Regions from separate parts of the Homo sapiens genome. Here region 1 is linked to region 2. Evidence: promoter capture Hi-C in human tissues and cell types (Jung and others, 2019). All regions are on one chromosome and are shown on one strand. The core of a region is centred on a gene start or on the middle of the fragment in contact, and the rest is flanking DNA. Distances in the headings are between cores, read along the strand shown. Region 1 holds the start of DTX4 (deltex E3 ubiquitin ligase 4). Region 2 holds the start of RTN4RL2 (reticulon 4 receptor like 2).

Region 1 (3,162 bases), core at 288-2,787, 1.7 Mb after region 2:
GCATTTTCTTTTGAGACAGCCCAACTAAATTTTGAATACTGGTTTCCCCTCTAACTAGCTATGTAATCTAGGGCAAATAGTTTAAATTCCTTAAGTCCTGTCATTTGTAAAATGGTAATAATAATGGCCTATGATATAATTAGTCGAGGTATCCTTGTTTTCTTTTTGTTCTTCTAATTCTGAAACTCGACATTTTAATGAGTGGTATTGTTTAGGTTGGATTAGGAACAGTCCCCAAATAAGGGAGAGGCCGACTAGGCATTTTGGAGGCCAAGCTGTGCAAGAAGACCAGAAAGAACAAAGCTCAGAGGTTCCTTGAGCCTGGTGCCTTTAGGGGCCTGAAGAAGAACAGATCTCACACTTTTTCTTTTGCTTTGTATTTAGAACTCTGTTGGGAGAAAGATAAAGGTAGAAGGATGCAAAATTCTAACAATGGGAGAAATGACAGCTGCAAGGAGAGGGAGGGGGAAGCAACTCTTCTAAAACATAAAAGGGTCATATGATATTTATGAAAAAATTGATTATTTCAAAAAGATTCACAATCCCATTCTCTAACACATAATCTATTTTTACTTTCCCGCATCCTATAACTTGGATCTTGATAAGACTCGATTCGTTGTTTTATGTGGTTTGCAATCTCAACAAAACAAAATTTGTGTTCTTTGACAAGGATAATGCATAATCCTGACTTCAGTCTTCCCTTTTAGTCAGAACCTACCTATTTAAGGTTATTTTCCATATTAACTATTGATGATCAAAATAAGTCTAACTCGTGTTTTTCCTAGTGTTTCATAATTTTAGTTACAGAAACGATGCAGATAAAATTAATCTAACATGCGTCTTCCTGACTCTAGTACGTTGAATCTGGCCAGAAAAACCACATTTGCTCTCTACGTAGGTAATATAAATCCATCATTAGCGAAATTGCTGCATCCCTTTGGACTGGGTCTCATTAGCAGAGGTTGGAGTGGCCACTGGCCGGCACACGACACTTTAGGCCAGCAGGGGGCGGGTAAGCTCCAGGGCACTCGCCCGAGCAGCAGGGGGCGTGTCTTCTGCTTCCTTGACGGACAGCTAAGGATGCGGGAGAGGATGAGGTAATAGGAGCCGGGGCAAGGAAGGAGTTGGGGTGCGCGCGCGTGTGTGTGCGACTGTGAGTGTGCCAGTGCGTGCGCAAGCCCCGAGACAATGCGTGTCTCCAGTTCGCGCTGCGGACACTGATCATGCTGCATTAAGGAAAAAAAAAGAGAGAGAGAGAGAAAATTACATTTGGGGGAAGGAGGCTGCAAAGTTGCGGCTGGGCGACAGTGGTGGTCCCGGGGCCGTGTCATGGCGGGTCGCTTCTCTGCATCAAGGAACCAGGGAAACACACGCGGGCGCGGGTTTGCCTTAGCGCCCTGCTTGGGAGGGGTGGTTCATTCTGGAAGGAACTGAGCAGAGCCACAGGCAGGGGGAGCTCTCCCAGCGGCGGGGACTGCAATTCGTGCGGCGAAGGGGTGGGGAGGGAGGGAGAGAGGGGAGGGGACCAGAGCGTGCCATTCCGAGCGCGGCCGTGCGGCGAGATCCCACCCCGGCGTCTGCAGAGGCCGAGGCGCAACTGGTGCGAGGGCTGGGTCCTTGCCTCGCCGTCAGCCCCAGCTCGCGGCCGCCGGGGCTCGGGCCGCGCGCCCGCCGAGTGGCTTTTGCAAGGCGGGGGCCTGTTTGCAGAGAGCCGGGCATTTGCATGAAGCGACTCGACCCCACAGAGCAGCGGCAGCAGCAGCGGACCCCGGCGGCGGCGGCGGCGCGCGGTCCCAGCCAGGCGGCCCCGGTGTCCCGGCCCCGGTGGATGCACGGCTGGGGAGGAGCCCATGGGCCGGAGCTGAGGCTGCCCGGGGCGGCGGGGCGCGGGGCAGGGGGCGCGGTCGAGGCCCGGAGGCGGCGGCGCAGGAGGAAGCGGAGGAGGTCGGGCGCTCGGGGCCCGGGAGGCGGGCCGCGCAGCGCCGCAGCCCCGGGCTCGCCATGCTCCTGGCCTCGGCCGTGGTGGTCTGGGAATGGCTGAACGAGCACGGCCGCTGGCGTCCCTACAGCCCAGCGGTGAGCCACCACATCGAGGCGGTGGTCCGCGCCGGCCCCCGCGCGGGGGGCAGCGTGGTGCTGGGCCAGGTGGACAGCCGTCTCGCGCCCTACATCATCGACCTGCAGTCCATGAACCAGTTCCGCCAAGACACGGGTGAGCCAGCCGCCCCTGACCCCGCCCCGCCTGCTCCCACCTTCCCAACCTGCCAAGGTACCTCCCTCCCTGTGAACCCACCTTGGCCACCTAGTCGGCACTTCTGTGCAGCAGTGTCACCAAGAGGTGGTGGTGGGAGGCGATTCACTCCGCTGAATCCTCGCAGGATCCTCCCTCCCCCTTAAACATCCATGCAAATAGTATCAGTGTTGTGGTTTTGCAAACCCAGCTTCAACCTAGTCGGTAACAATCCACTCCCCACCCCTTTCATGCCCCCGCTTTTCAGCAGTTGGTGGCCCTAAGTCTTTCTATGTAGAAATTCTAGGGCCGCCCCAGACTACAGGCAATCCCAGCCCTTCGCAAAGGCTTCCTGCCCTCATCCCGTGGCGGCCGGCACCTTGGCTGACCTGACCCTGTTTTGCTTCAGGCACGCTGGGGCTTGCCACACGTCCCCTCACCCCCGATCTCACTGCCTCTGCGTCTCCTGTGTGGGATGCCTCCCCGCAGCTGGGTCCTGGGTGTGGGAACTGGGGGAGGAAGAAGGGATTCCCCGGAGGTTCTCGCTACAGTCGGGTAAGGGAAGCGCCGGGCTCCCTGGGAGGAGAGACTAGGGCTGGGGTACCCTGGACGCCGCGGCATTGGCGAATGCCTCTGCTACACACTACATGCGCGGAAGCAACAGGCCGGAGCAGATGGAGAGAGGAGGGGGAGGCTCGGGGCTTCGGAATGCATGGCAGGGAAGCCGCTCCCTTTGTCTGCGGAGGAGGAGGACGCAGATTCCTAAGGAGAAACTGTCCCCAGGCTTCCTCTTGAAACCATAGCCTGTAAGGAACCCATGGTCTCCTGGAGCGCCAAACTCCTATCTTTTCATGAGAATCAAGTTGTCACTGTAGCCAGCACAAACCCGCTTCCCAGCTGACCTGCCTTTCCAGGTCAGAGCCAGGAAGGGA
Region 2 (3,445 bases), core at 232-2,731:
AACAGACGAGTAGAGACAGAAAAGGTCCGAGAGAGAGTGAGGGAGGGAGGGAACAGAGAGACAGAGACCACGAAATATGAGTAAGAGTCGGGGGAGAAAACCAGAGAAATCGAATGAGAACGCGAGAAGAACGAGAGACCGTGGAGGGAGCAGAGAATGAATGGGAAGAATAAGACCAACATTTATCAAGAGCCGACTGTATGCCAGGCACTGCATTGGACCCTGGCACGGATAGGAAAGGAGGAGCCGCGGCGCGGGCAGCGGGGCGAGGGGCTTCTGTGCTCGCGGGAGCGGCAGCCCAGGGGGCTCAGCAGCCCCGGCACCGCCGCACCTGAGGCTCCAGCAGCCCCAACCCCGCCAGCGCTGCCTGGCCACCGTACCCGAAGCGGCTCCCCCGAGGGCCCCGAGCCTATCCTACGCCGGGGCGGCTCCGCGGACGCGCCGGGCCGAGTCAAGACCTGGGTCAACCGCCCTGCAGCCTTTGTAGGGAAGTGCCTAGGTGATGGGTCTGCTGATACCGCCTGTGACCAGGCCATGAAGGGCCAGAGGGGCTCCAGTGAGACCATAATCCGCCCCTCTTTAAAAGGGGGTAGAGGAAGTTCACGCGAAGCCAACAGTCTTCTCCCCAGCTTTGGGTCCTCTCCTGCACCCCCGCGGGAGATAAGGTCTCCCCTCCCGGACACATCATACATACACAAAAAAACGCACACACTCGCACGCGCGCCCATCTCGCACCCGCTTGTAAATGCACTAAGGGGCATACACACACCGGGCACATATTTCTTTCCACCCATCCCCAAGATCGCAAGCGCAAAACCTCGCACAGCCTCACGTTTCCCACCAGCTCAGACATGCACGCTGGCGGACTTTCAGCGGCTCACCCGTGTGCACACTCACGTGCCCCCCCCCCCGCTTCCCCAAGCCCGTACAAAGGGTAACGGGCAAGCATCCTGAGTCACACCTGCACAAGCATCCTTGCGCGCACGTGCACGCTCATATGCACTCGATCTTGCACGCACAAACTCTTGCATATACTATTCTTATAGTCGCACACTGGGCTTGAGGTCTGGGAGTGGAAGGAAAAGTGGAATCTTGGAGCTGTCCCAGGGGACAGAAATGCTGGAGGCTGGGACACTGGCGCGAGGGACGCGGCTGGGGGCGGGGGAGGGGGTGACCCAGAAGCTCATCTTCTCCTGGAAAGTTGGGAGGGGGGAACAGGACAAGTCCACGGCGTTCCTCTAAACTACCGCATTCCCCCAAGAAGGGATTTCTCTAGAAGAGTGGCGCCGCGAGGACGATCGAACACAGTCCTCCGGGTCGCTTAAGCGGGGGGGAGGGGGGCGGGGTGGAGGGGGTTAGAAAGCCGCTCCCGCCTCCTAGTGGTCGAGAAAGGGTTAAGTCGGCAAGCCAGCAAACGAGGGAGGAGCCAGCGAGTGCGGGAAGGAGTGGGGGTGGTTGGGAAGAGCTTCCTCGCTGTCCCCACTCTCCCTCGGCTAGCAGCCTGGGCACACGGACAGACGGACTGACGGACTCTCGAGCGGACAGCGCAGCTAGCGGGGCGCGGGCGCTGGGCGTCGACGGCCAGCCCCAGCCTTCCCCGCCCCGTCGCGCCCCGCCCCGTCCCGTCGGGGCCGATGGCTCCTCCCGAGGCCCGCAGCCCGGGCGGCGCAGGGTAGAGCGCCGCGGCCCGGCCACGCAGCCCGGGGACTCCCGGGCCCTCCCGGAGCCCCGCGGGGTCCCCGCCGTGCATCCGGCGGGCTCAGGGAGCGAGTGGGAGCGCCCTCCCCCCGCTGCCCCCTCCCCCGAGCATCGAGACAAGATGCTGCCCGGGCTCAGGCGCCTGCTGCAAGGTAAGAACGCCAGCGGCGGGAGAGCGGAGGGCATCCTGGGGAGAGAAGCAGGGCGTCCCCTCTTTCAGGGATTGAGGGTGGGGCAGTTGGGGAGGTGGGGTAACCTGGGGAAGGGGAAAAGCTCAGCGCTGGGGCCGCGCCCCCGCCGCCAGGGCTGTTCTCAGCAGGAGGGCACTTGGCTGGGAGCCCGCGGGCGCGTGCGAGGAGCTCGTGACCGAGGTGGGACGCAGGGGGCAGGTGGACCCGGCCCGGAGCGGGGAGGGAGGCTCAGGTTCCGCTGTCCCCGCTCCACCTGCTCCGGGGGACGCTGAGGACTCGGGCCGGCTGGGGAAGCGCCGACTCAGCAACTCCTCCTGCCCGGTGCCTCAGCACTTTCTGGCCACCTGGGAAGACAGGAGATGTGGGTAGGGGGCTGTCTGGGGAGGTAGGAGGCGCAGAGGGAAATCCAAGTGGCCCTCTCTGGTAGGAGAGATGGAGGGCGCTAGAAAGAGGATAGTTCTACTGATTGAGTGACAGATAAGGGTGTGGGCCAGAGACTGGGGGTGGGGTGGGGAGGGGTCAGGGGGAGAGGGATAGGAAGGAGAACTCAAAGATGGAGAAAGTGGTGAGGGAAGCTCAAAGGAGGAGGGAGATGGAGCGGGGGAGGGGGAGAAGGAATAAAGGTTAGATGGGAAAAGCGTGGAGGGAAGTGGGACCCAGGTGAAGACCAAGGAAGAGGGAAGGAGAGGAAAGACCAGATCAGGGGAGGGATGGGAAGAAGACTATGGACAGGGACCCAGAATCCTGGGATGGAGGTAGCGGGAAAGAGAATCAGGACTGGGACCCTGGGGACTGGAATGGAAAAGGAGAATGGAAAGATCAGAAACCAGAGAAGGATGGGGATGGTGACTAGAGAAGGGGTATCAGGAACCGGCGAAGAGGGTTGGAGACAGGGAACCATGGATGGGAGAGGGGCTGGAGAGGAGGGAAGAGGAGGAGGAAGAGAAAGGCTGAGAGAGAGGGACTGGGGATTGGGGGTGCTGCCCAGGGATGAGACAAAGAGGCTTCTGGTAACCACTTCCACGTGGGAAGCCCTCCATTCCCAAAGCGCCTGCCTGCCACATTTCTTCTCTCAGGGAGTGGCTGGTGGGCCAGATGGGGGGTGCTTTGAGCTCAGGGCCCTGGGGGTGGCTGTGAGGGACAGAGGGTGAGGACTTTGGAAGGGGAGTGACAGCCTCCGAGGGTGGGCAAACAGGCTGGCTCCTGTGCTGCCATTTATTTATCCGGCCTGGACGTTGGATTCTGCAGCCGCTGCCGCCACCACGGTGGCTGCTTATTTTGGGGTGTTACATTCTGGCAGAGTGAGAAGCTGTTTGCAGCAGCTCTAAACCTCCGTCACCCGCGTCAGTGCCTCCCCAGGCCCCTGCGTCACTGGCATCACCACCACCTCCATCCCACTCCTCAGCTCCCACCTCCTCAGCCCCTGCCCCCTCAGCATCTGCCCGCAGGCCCCAGCCCTTCCCTGAAGCAGCCCGTTGGGTGTGGAGCCCTTGCTTCTCGTCTGGGACCCTGTGCCCCTCCTTCCAGAGCGAGAGGCCTCTGCTGCCTTTCCAGGG

The links. Contacts are between HindIII fragments. The study calls those that stand out against the background at their distance.
Region 1: a contact is called between the fragment with the promoter of DTX4 here and the fragment with the promoter of RTN4RL2 in region 2, in 1 of the 25 tissues and cell types used here (neural progenitor cells).

What each region holds. Positions count from the first base shown.
Region 1 is chr11:59,170,595-59,173,756 of GRCh38, forward strand. It overlaps DTX4 (deltex E3 ubiquitin ligase 4), which reads left to right and starts at 1,538. Exons shown (of 9, transcript NM_015177.2): 1 at 1,538-2,212. The coding sequence starts at 2,002. LOC124902601 (basic proline-rich protein-like) reads right to left here and starts at 2,851. Exons shown (of 2, transcript XM_047427951.1): 1 at 2,671-2,851; 2 at 1-2,136. The coding sequence starts at 2,851. The coding sequence ends at 1,328. It overlaps LOC124902675 (a long non-coding RNA gene), which reads right to left. Exons shown (of 4, transcript XR_007062682.1): 4 at 3,105-3,162. RefSeq lists enhancers at 675-1,215, 1,302-1,596, 2,224-3,052, 2,495-2,604 and silencers at 1,475-2,044, 2,105-2,154. The HindIII fragment of the contact is 18,272 bases long and covers 1-3,162 here.
Region 2 is chr11:57,459,047-57,462,491 of GRCh38, forward strand. RTN4RL2 (reticulon 4 receptor like 2) reads left to right here and starts at 1,482. Exons shown (of 3, transcript NM_178570.3): 1 at 1,482-1,850. The coding sequence starts at 1,820. RefSeq lists silencers at 330-389, 1,489-1,758 and an enhancer at 3,194-3,445. The HindIII fragment of the contact is 24,381 bases long and covers 1-3,445 here.